Linked DNA regions of Homo sapiens: region 2 is linked to region 1. Evidence: promoter capture Hi-C in 16 types of primary human blood cells and fetal thymus (Javierre and others, 2016). All regions are on one chromosome and are shown on one strand. Each heading gives the region's core, a stretch centred on a gene start or on the middle of the fragment in contact. The rest is flanking DNA. Distances are from core to core; before and after follow the strand shown.

Evidence for each region. Contacts are between HindIII fragments. The CHiCAGO score rates a contact against its expected background, and 5 or more counts as called.
Region 2: a fragment that was not itself captured here is called in contact with the fragment with the promoter of DACT3-AS1 in region 1 in 1 of 17 cell types (naive B cells); the score reaches 5.2 in naive B cells.

What each region holds. Positions count from the first base shown.
Region 1 is chr19:46,657,913-46,662,943 of GRCh38, reverse strand. DACT3-AS1 (DACT3 antisense RNA 1) reads right to left here and starts at 2,580. Exons shown (of 3, transcript NR_040042.1): 1 at 2,536-2,580. DACT3 (dishevelled binding antagonist of beta catenin 3) reads left to right here and starts at 1,762. Exons shown (of 4, transcript NM_145056.3): 1 at 1,762-2,128. The coding sequence starts at 1,880. RefSeq lists silencers at 1,385-1,504, 1,715-1,964. The HindIII fragment of the contact is 2,055 bases long and covers 1,670-3,724 here.
Region 2 is chr19:46,524,973-46,530,003 of GRCh38, reverse strand. It overlaps the pseudogene PPP5D1P. Among named protein-coding and RNA genes, the nearest start is that of PNMA8B, 32 kb to the right of the region's middle. The HindIII fragment of the contact is 4,232 bases long and covers 19-4,250 here.

The sequences.
Region 1 (5,031 bases), core at 1,331-3,830:
AACTCAGGTGATCTGCCCGCCTCAGCCTCCCAAAGTACTGGGATTACAGACGTGAGCCACTGCGCCTGGCTGATTCTCCAGAAATCTTTTGGCATCATCATTAATAAAAGCATCAAGAAGTCAAAAAGGAAATCAAGTGATCCTCCCGCCTCAGCCTCCCAAGTAGCTGGGGCTACAGGTGTGCACCACCACACCCGACTAATTTTCTAAGTCTATTTTGAACAAGAGGAAGACTGAATAAAGGTTGTCTCTAATAAATTTCAAGACATTTCCCCCCGGAAACTTACTAGATTAGTTTTTAAACTTATTTGTCAAACCCTTCTGTGGCTCTTAATCCATGGAAGACACTGCTCCAAGTACCTAATACATTTCATTGAATCCTCAGAACAACTGTATGAGGCAGCCAGTATTATGATCCCGTGATCAGATGAAGAAACGGTGGCACAGAGAGGTTAAGTAAGTTTTCCAAGGTCACACAGCTGGAAAGTGACAGATCTGTGACTCACCCCGAGGAAGTCTGGCTCCTGGAGACTTTGCTGTCTATCGCCACTATCAATTTCTCTCCATCTCACCACCAGAAGGTCACTTCGTGCACGGGGAATCATAAAAGAGGGAATTTCTTGTATGATCTTCTGGGCCTTGGCTTTTAGGGAGCCAAGGTCTGTCTGAGAGATGAGTATGAATATTAGAGCTAGGTCTTGGAAGTTGGTAGAGGCAGGCTCGGCGTAGTGATACAGATTGGCCGCCTGAGGGTGCCCCAGCCCTGCTTGCGGAGCCTGGAGAGACAGCAGGAAGCCTTGGAAACGAATGTCAGGCTCAGACTCCTAGGACCAGAGAACGTTGAGAATAGAGCATCATAGAAGGCTGAGAACAAAGCCCCTTAGAACGTAGAACAAAGGCCCCTGGAATGGAAGAATGATGAGCACACATCCTCCTAGCACCTGGGAGACAAAAGCTGCTTAGACTCTCTTCTGGTCAAAGCATAGAATCTTCCACCCAGGGTCTTATAATTCCAGAATTTGGAATGCAATCGATCTTAGACTCTTAGCAGCAAGACCGGCTACATATTTGGCCTAGTGCAAAGTGAAAATAAGGGGCCCCTTGCTCAAAAACTAAAAATTTCAAGACAGAAATTGCAGAACATTCAACCAAGCGCGAAGACCCTTCTAAGTGGATTCCAAGCCGGTGAAGCCGGCCCTAAGTAGAAACAATTTCATCGGAGGACGTCCGTCTGGTTTTACAGCTGAGTGTCTGGGAAGGCTTCTTGGAAGAGGAGGCGAAGTCAGGGCTCGACCCCCTAACCCTTTTCTCCCCCTGCGCAGCCTCAGAAGCTGAAGGTTGGGCGGGGTGGAGGGGTAGGAGCAGCTGCCAAACTGTCACGTGTACCCATTCCCTATTTATAGATCACCCTTCCCCTCGCGCCGGACAGTCCAATGGTAGCCAGCGCTCGCCCGCAAGAGGGTGGAACCTGCTGCAGGACCGGCCAGGCACAGACCAATGGCATTGAAGCAAGGGCGGGCTTGTTTCATTGTGACGCGTGGGGGGGCGTGGCCAGGGCCCCGAGGCAGTTGCACGGAGGGGGCGTGGCGAGCGGAGTGAGTAGGCAGTTGCGAGCATGCGTCGTGTTGGGCGGTGCGGTTGCACGCCCGAGAGTCTTCGTCAGGAAGCTTATTCGCCAATAGGCGGCTGTTGCTCGGTCGCCGGGGGCGTGGCCATGCAGATAAGGCGCGGGTGGGCGGCCCAATGGGCGGGCGCCTATGCAGATGAGACGGTGACAGCCCGGCCAGCGGGCGGGCGGGCAGGCTGCTGGGGCGGGGAGGTGGGACCGGGAGAGGGGTGGCCGCGGGGCCCGGCCGGGCTGGGGCGGGGGGCCGCAGCCATGATCCGGGCCTTCTCGTTCCCGGTGAGCCCTGAGCGGGGCCGGCTGCGGGGCTGGCTGGAGGGTAGCCTGGCCGGGCTCTGCGAGTTACATTGGCTCCGGGAGAGGCAGGAGTACCGCGTGCAGCAGGCGCTGCGGCTGGCCCAGCCCGGAATGGGGGGCGCCGAGGCCGAGGACGAGGAGGACGCCGATGAGGATGAAGATGCGGCGGCGGCGCGCCGGGCCGCAGCGGCCCTGGAGGAGCAGCTGGTAAGGGGCTGCCTGTCCGTCCGTCCCTCCACCCCCGTCTGTGTCTGTCTGTCTCGGTTGGATGCTCAGACACCGGGCGGGGGTTGGGGACCCGGGTAGGCAGGGAGTGAGAAAGGACAGGGGGTGGGGCTGGCGACCCCGGAGTTCCGGCGGCGGGCCGGACCTGGCCTCCCCGCCCCCAAATCGGGGGAGGGGGAACTGCATCGCCCCCACTGGGGCCTCGTGAGAAACACAGGCCCTGTCTCTTACACCCCTTCCCCAAAGAAAATCCTTGTGGGCGCCAAGTATGTGTCAAACCCGAGACCGGGTACTTTGCAGGCGTTGTCTTCTTGCGGCTTGGGAAACGGGGTGATAGTCCCCATTTAACAGAGAAACAAATTGAGGCTCAGAGAGAGCAAGCGACTCACCCAAGGTGACACAGCCAGGCTCCAAACATGCCCTTCTCTGGGCCCCGCCACCAGGGCTCCATCTTCCCTAAGTCCTGGTGTGCTTGGAGATCTCTGGAGGGGGCGGGGTGGGAGGAGGGGAATCTCAGGGCCTCCAGAGGGAGGGACCACTGCTGAGAGGAAGCTCACAGTCCCTGAGGACCCCCCACTGGGATCTTGACCCTTTGGTGACACTTCCCCTGCTTCCTACCTGGCCCCAGCTCTCCTTGACCCAAGGGGAGGCAGGTCGAGGCAGCGCCTGGGGGAGACTTCTGGACTCTGGGTGTTCTCATGGTGGAAGATGGGCAGAGGTCTCCGGAATGACTTGAGGACGCCCCATGCCTCTCCCCTTTCTATGTCATTCCTTGAGTCTCCCGATCTCGTCCTGGGTTCTGTCACTCTCTCCGTCCTGCCACATCCCTGTGACTTTCTGTGTCTGCTTCTCTTTCTTCATCCTGTCTCTCTGTCTCTGTGATCTCTGTGTCCCTCTGCATCTGTCTCCTTGGCCTTCCCTTCCTGCCTGTCTGCACCTCGCTCTCTTCTTCTTGCCCGACGTCCCAGGCTCAGTCTGTCTTCCCCTCCCCCCAGCCCGCACACCCTGGCTCCACGGCAGATCCCCATCCCCAAGCCTGTGTGTGGCCAGAGCTTCCCGTTTCGGGAAACCTGAGCCGAGGTGGCAGTGGAGGGGGCTCTCCCCGCCGCTGACCTCGACCGCCCCCTCCCCAGATGGGGAGTGGGGAGGAAGACTGAAGCCAGGCTCCCGGGGCTGCACGCCCGGCCCCTCCCCCTCTCAGGAGTGGGACCCCCCTGCACATTCTTTTCTGGAAACAGAAACAGCTGTGGGAGGCCCCACCCCCTCCCAAAGTTAGAGACGGATTGTGGGGGCCTTCGCTAGCTCCCCCCACCCCAAGCTGGCTCGGCTTGGAAGGCGCCTTCCATCCTGACAAGGAGAATGCGAGGCATGAGGTTGGGGTAGCTGTGGGTAGCTGTGTCCTCTCCCCCTCTGCCCTCGGTCTCTCCCCTTTTCACCCTTCACCTTCCCCATCTCTGCCCTTCAGTCTCCCTCTCCTCGGTCCCTCTGTCCCCTCCTCCCCCTCAGCCCTCTGTCCTCCCGGCACGAGCTGATAGTGGAGAGGCCTGTCCCCCCACCCCCCAGTCTCTAGGCAAAGCTTGTCCCAGCATCAGGGAGGAGGCGGTGGCAGGCGGGGGGAGGAGGAGGAGCAGAGAAGCGCTAAATATAAACTTCTCTAGTGCTGGGGGTTCCTGGGTCCCTCTGAAGAGTGGATTAGGGCTTCTTCTGATCCCCCAACCCTTGTCTTATGACTTATCCCCCCACCCCCAGCCCCTGCCAGGAATACACTTCCTTCAAGGCAAGAAAGACTGAAGCCAGACTTGATTACTTTCTAATAGGAATGATGGGGATACCAGGTAAAGATCAGGGGTGTGGCAGAGAAGAGAGGCAGGAATCCTGGGTGAGGGCAGGGGCTCCCTGGGTCCTGCTTGCTCTCAAGAAGGAAAAAGGTTCCTTTCATCAAGAATAACTTAAGTTAGACTTGCAGAATGACTTCCTAATAGAGATAAATGGGCACTGGATACCAACGAGGGGCACGTGAGGGGAGAAACAAGGTAAGGGAAGTTTGGGCAAAGGGGTCTCCAGGGGTCCTAACCACACTCTTATTAAGCCTGCAGAGGAAGGATGAGGGGCACCGTGAGGAGGCAGAGAGCCAGACTCAGGCCAAGGACTTTCTAATCTTTTAAAGATTCATCCTTTTGCAACTGGAAGGAATGAGGCCAGACTTGCAAATAGAGGGGTGTAGACTTGGAATATTTTTGGGGGGCGTCTAGGTGCTGGAGAGGAGGAGGCATCTCCTGTCTGTCTCCCTAATTTCTGCTCTTCCTTGTAATGGAAGAACCGGAATTAGACTTGGCAGAACTTACCAAAAAGTCTATCCTTTCACGTTTATTTATGTATTTTTAAATGATATATTTATTTATTCATTTATTTTTGGAGACAAAGTCTCTCAGGCTGAAGTGCAGTGGCACGATCATAGCTCACTGCAGCCTCTAACTTGGCCTCAAGCAATCCTCCTGCCTCAGCCTCCCAAGAAGCTAGGACTACAGGTGCACACCGCCACATTTGGCTAATTTTTTTTTTTTTTTTAAAGATATGAGGTCTTGCTATGTTGTTCAGGCTGGTCTCCAACTCCTGGGCTCAAGCAATCCTTCTGTCTCAGCCTCTCAAAGCACTAGGATTGCAGGTGTGAGCTACTGTACCTGGCCTTTATTTATTTATTCATTGAGACAGAATCTTGCTCTGTCACCCAGGCCAGAGTGCAATGGCACAATCTCTGCTCACTGCAACCTCCACCTCCTAGGTTCAAGTGATTCTCGGCTCACTGCAACCTCCACCTCCTGGATTCAAGCAATTCTCCTGCCTCAGCCTCCCGAGTAGCTGGAATTACAGGCATGCACCATCAC
Region 2 (5,031 bases), core at 885-3,384, 130 kb after region 1:
AGGCCAGAGCTGGAAGCTTCTCTGCAGCTTATGTGCTGTGTGACACTGGGAAAGTTAAATGACCTCTCTGAGCCTCACTTTCCTCATTTATAAGATATTCTCAGAATTGCTGTGTTGATTTAGGCACGTGGATAATTTAGCATAGGTACTGGTCACAGTAGGGCTTTAAGTATCGATTATTGGTGTCAATCCTTATTTTCATAATTCCCTTTTGTGTGTAGAACGGGCTGTTGCTGTATGAGGAATTTGCTGGGTCAGAGCGCCCTCTGGTGGGCGTGGGGAGCCAGTTCAGGGAAGAAAGATGAAACCAGAGGTTTTGATTTTAAAGGGCACCACCCTCCCTCCCCTTCTTATTCTGTCCCTTCCTCCCTTTCTTTCCCTTTCTTCCCTCCACATGCATTCACCAGGGTCTGATCCTGCCTAGATGGGGACTGAAACAGCCCAGGTCCTACCTTCCCGGGGGGTTTACAGCCCGGTAGGGGGAGGCAGAGGAACCCCACCTGAGTAGAGCTTAACACTGGGGAGAAGGTGGGACTGCGGGATACAGGGCTTCATAGGAACCCGACTTGTTCCCGGGGCACTGGGGAACTAGAGAAAATTTTGGAATAAGGGAGGGGGAGGGTCAAGTTTGCGATGTCATGTGGATGAATGGGACGGGTGAGGCTGAGGCTGGACCCGACGGGGAGGCCGCAGAAGGCGTGGGCTGAAAGCGTGGAATGGTGTGGGCTGAAGGCGTGCAGGGCGTGGGAGGGGGATGTTGGGGCAAAGTCCAGGACCCTAGCCCACTCCTAGTTTGGGAGAGGAGTCTCTCTCACCCTCAGGGTTCGTCCCCAGCCTGGTGATCTGCTGGGAGCTGCCAGCCACTCATCTCTTGAACTGGCCCAGGCCTGGGGCCCTGTGTCCCCAGGCAGAGCTCCCATAGTTCCCCGTTAGCCTAGAGGGTCACAGCTCCCAGTCCCCCAGTGTGGGTCCTGCCACTCATGGGCCCTGGTGGGCCTGAGAATCTAGTGGGCCTCCTGGGGTAGGCTCTGTCCCTGAATGGGCAGAAACAACCTTTCAGCTCTCACAGTGGGGTGACATAGTGGACGAGGGATGGGGGATGCTGGGTCTCTGGACGCATGCCTGGGGGTCTCCCTAGGGGGTTGATGGTTTTGGCCTTCAGGCAGAAAGAACCTGGTGGCAAAGTTCCAGAGGTTAGCGGAGCCTAGCATGGAGGCGGTGAGTGGGGCTGCAGTGTGTGTGCGTGGGGGTTATGATGAAGCTGCAGGGAGCAGATCACGCAGGGCCGTGGGGAGAGCCAGGGCTTTCTGCGGGAGGCTCTGGGAGCCCTGGGAGGTTCCGAGTAGGGAAAGGACAGGGTCAGGTTTGTGCCTTAGGAACACCCCTCTGGAAGGGCAGGACAAGAGGCTGTGAGGCCAGGTGGAGGCTGAGCCAGGAACGTGGGCAGGAGAGGCCAGGTCAGGGCTGGGTGGGGCTGGAGGGTGAGAAGGGAATGGCTGGATCTGAGAGATGTTCAGGAGGCCGACTTGGCAGAAGAAGTGAAGTGACTGCCGGGCTGTGGGGGCTGAGGGGTCGGGAGGAGTCCAGGATGAGGCTCAGTCTCAGCTGGGTGATGGGGTGGAAGGTGGACTTCCCTGGGATGGGAGCAGCCTGCTTGGGGGTTGCTGCTGAGGCTGCGTCAGAGTTCCGGGCAACAGCAGCCTTTGGGAGGGGCCCCTTACCCCCCAGGACCCCGGATCCAGGCTCTCAGGAGTCCTGGGGCTGGGCAGGCAGCCAGAGGGGCCTGGCACTGAGCTGGCACGGAGGAGAACGGCCCTGCTGGCCCAGGCCCCTCGCTGTCTGGCAGGCAGTAGAAGGCACAGAGCCCCAGGCTCCAGGGCTGTGGGAATAACAATAAGAAGAATAATGACAACTCACCTTGGCCAGGTGCGGTGGCGCATGCCTATAATCCCAGCACTTTGGGAGGCTGAGGTGGGCAGGAGGTCAGGAGTTCCAGATCAGCCTGGCCAACATGGTGAAACCTCCATCTCTACTAAAAATACAAAAATTAGCTGGGGGTGGTGTCAGGCGCCTGTAATCCCAGCCACTCAGGAGGCTGAGGAAGGAGGATTGCTTGAACCCAGAATATGGAGGTTGCAGTGAGCTAAGATTGCGCCACTACACTCCAGCCTGAGTGACAGAGTGAGACTCCATCTCAAAGTAATAATAATAATAATAATTACAGCTCATCTTAATTGAGCCCTGCGGTGGCCAGGTATGCCATGGCGTTTCATCTCCCTAGGGGCTGGGAGATGGCTAGGAACAGCCCTGTTTGTTTCATAGAGGAAGCATATTAATCAGAGTTCTCCAAAGAGACAGAATCAACAGGATATGTGTAGACAGAGATAGGAGAAGGGGTTTATTGGGCAACTGGCTCATTCAATTATGGAGGCGGAGAAGTCCTGAGGCTGTGTGCAGGCTGGAGACCCTGGGATGCAGGGAGTGTGGCTCAGAACAAGTCCGAAGGCCTCAGAACTGGGGAAGCCAACGGTGTAATTCTCAGTCCGAAGCCAAAGGCCTGAGGATTTGAGGGGCAGCTGGCGTAAGTCCTGGAGTCCAAGGCTGGGAAGCCTGGAGTTGTCGCTGCCTGCACTGGTTCCCACGGGGGACCAGGAGCTGAGCCCATGGTCCTCAGACGGGCAAGGTGTTTGATTTTAATGTAGTTATAGCTAAGGTTGATGAAGTGTGCCGGTGTGAGCAGCTTAGCTATGGACAGTTTTGGGGTGCAGAAACCAAGACTTGGAGGTTAAACATGTCCAGGGTTGCACCATCAGCACTGGTGCCCGGGCAGCCTGACTTCCGCGTTCATGGAATCCAGGGCTGGGCAGCCTGGGGACAGCCGCTGTGCCCCCACCTCGGCCTCAGTGTGCACGCCCCTTCCCTCCCACCCAGGTGGTCAAGGTGAAGCCCCACGACAAGGATGCCAAAATGAAATACCAGGAGTGCAACAAGATCGTGAAGCAGAAGGCCTTTGAGCGGGCCATCGCAGGCGACGAGCACAAGCGCTCCGTGGTGGACTCGCTGGACATCGAGAGCATGAGTGAGTCAGGCCTGGATGCTCCACGCTCCAGCCCAGAACATTCCACACGGGCCTTCTCCATTCCCTGGGGGTGGGGGTGGGCTCAAGGGTAGCCCCTTGTTCTGCCCCCAGGCTGCTGTCTGTCGCTCCTCTGCCTGTGTTCCAGGGCGCTCCATCCGCAGCCCAAAGCTCCGTCTCATGATTCCCAATGGGCGAGGTCAGGAGCTGCAACACCCCGCTGATATGGCTTGGCTGTGTCCCCACCCAAATCTCATCCCCACCCAAATCTCATCTTGAATTGTAACTCCCATAATTCCTACATGTTGTGGGAGAGACCTGGTGGGAGATAATTGAATCGTGGAGGCAGTTTCCCCCATACTGTTCTCGTGGTAGTGAGTAAGTCTCACGAGATCTGATGGTTTTATAAGGGGTTTCCCCTTTCACTTGGTTCTCATTCTCTCCTGCCTGTCGGCACATGAGACGTGCCTTTCATCTTCCACCATGATTGTGAGACCTCCTCAGCCACATGGAACTGTGAGTCCATTAAACCTCTTATTCTTTATGAATTACCCAGTCTCGGGTATGTCTTTATCAGCAATGTGAAAATGGACTAATACACCTTCCCTACCCACCAGCATCACCCCTGCCCGGGCCCTTCTCCATGCTGGCTTCTTGGCCACTCTGTCATCCTCTCCTCCCTCCCTCTCTGCCGGCAGTAGCCCCGCCCCCACAGGCTGTGTCTGGTTCACCTCTAGGTGCTGAGAAGGTCCAGCCATTCATCCCACAGATGATTATTGAGCATCTCCTATGTGCCAGGCACTGTCCTAGGCACTGGGGGTACAGCTATGAACAAAACCCTTCCTGTCCGCATGGAGCTGATATTCTAGGAGGCAGATAAGATGATGAACAAGTCACAAAATGAATCGTGCTAAGTGCCATAAAACTGAATAGGGTAAAGGGGGGCGGGTGAAGGAAGAGAAGGAGGTCAGGAAGAGGCCTCTGGGCCAGACCTGACCAGAGAGGGGACTCTTCACTCGCTCTGTCCCTCTCTCAATCTGTGTGTCCAGAGCCAGGTCCACCTCATCCCTGGGAGCAAGACCCCCTTCCCCCTTACAGTGGCCGTGGTCGCTGACTCTCGTGTCTCCCCTGTTCACATGCCAGCCATCGAGGGTGAGTACAGCGGACCCAAGCTTGAGGACGACAAAGTGACAATCACCTTCATGAAGGGGCTCATGCAGTGGTACAAGGACCAGAAGAAACTGCACCAGAAATGCGCCTACCAGGTAATGCACCTGTCAGGTACCGGGCACCCGGGAACCCTGGGATGGCATCACAGCACTGCCAGGCGCGGGCACTGAGCAAAATGACAGGAGAAGGGCAGCCACAACAGCCAACACCAAACAGGAGTCGTGGTCATTATGGATTGGCAGTAATCCCTCCCAATATTCAGATACAATAAACTATCTCTACAAATAAAGCCACCAACCTTGGCTCACTTGTTCAGAAGATAGCACCGTTAGAGAAATCCAAGAAGCACCAACCCTCTCACTACACATGACACTGACTTCCTTTGGTGGACAGAGCTCCAATTCCTTGTATTGGTGTCTCTGATTTAGAAAAGGCTATTATGGGCCAGGCACAGTGGCTGACACCTGTAATCCCAGCACTTTGGGAGGCCGAGGCGGGTGGATCACTTGAGGTAAGGAGTTCAATGCCAGCCTGGCCAACATGGTGAAACTTCGTCTCTACTAAAAATACTAAAATTAGCTGGGTGTGGTGGTGCACACCTGTAGTCCTAGGTACTTGGGAGGCTGAGGCAGGAGAATTGCTTGAACCCAGGAAGGGGAGGTTGCAGTGGTCCAAGATCATGCCACTGCACTCCTGCACTCCAGCCTGGGCAAGAGAGCAAGACTCCATATCAAAAAACAAAAACAGAAACAGAAAAAGAAAAAGAAGGAAGGAAGGAAGGGGCT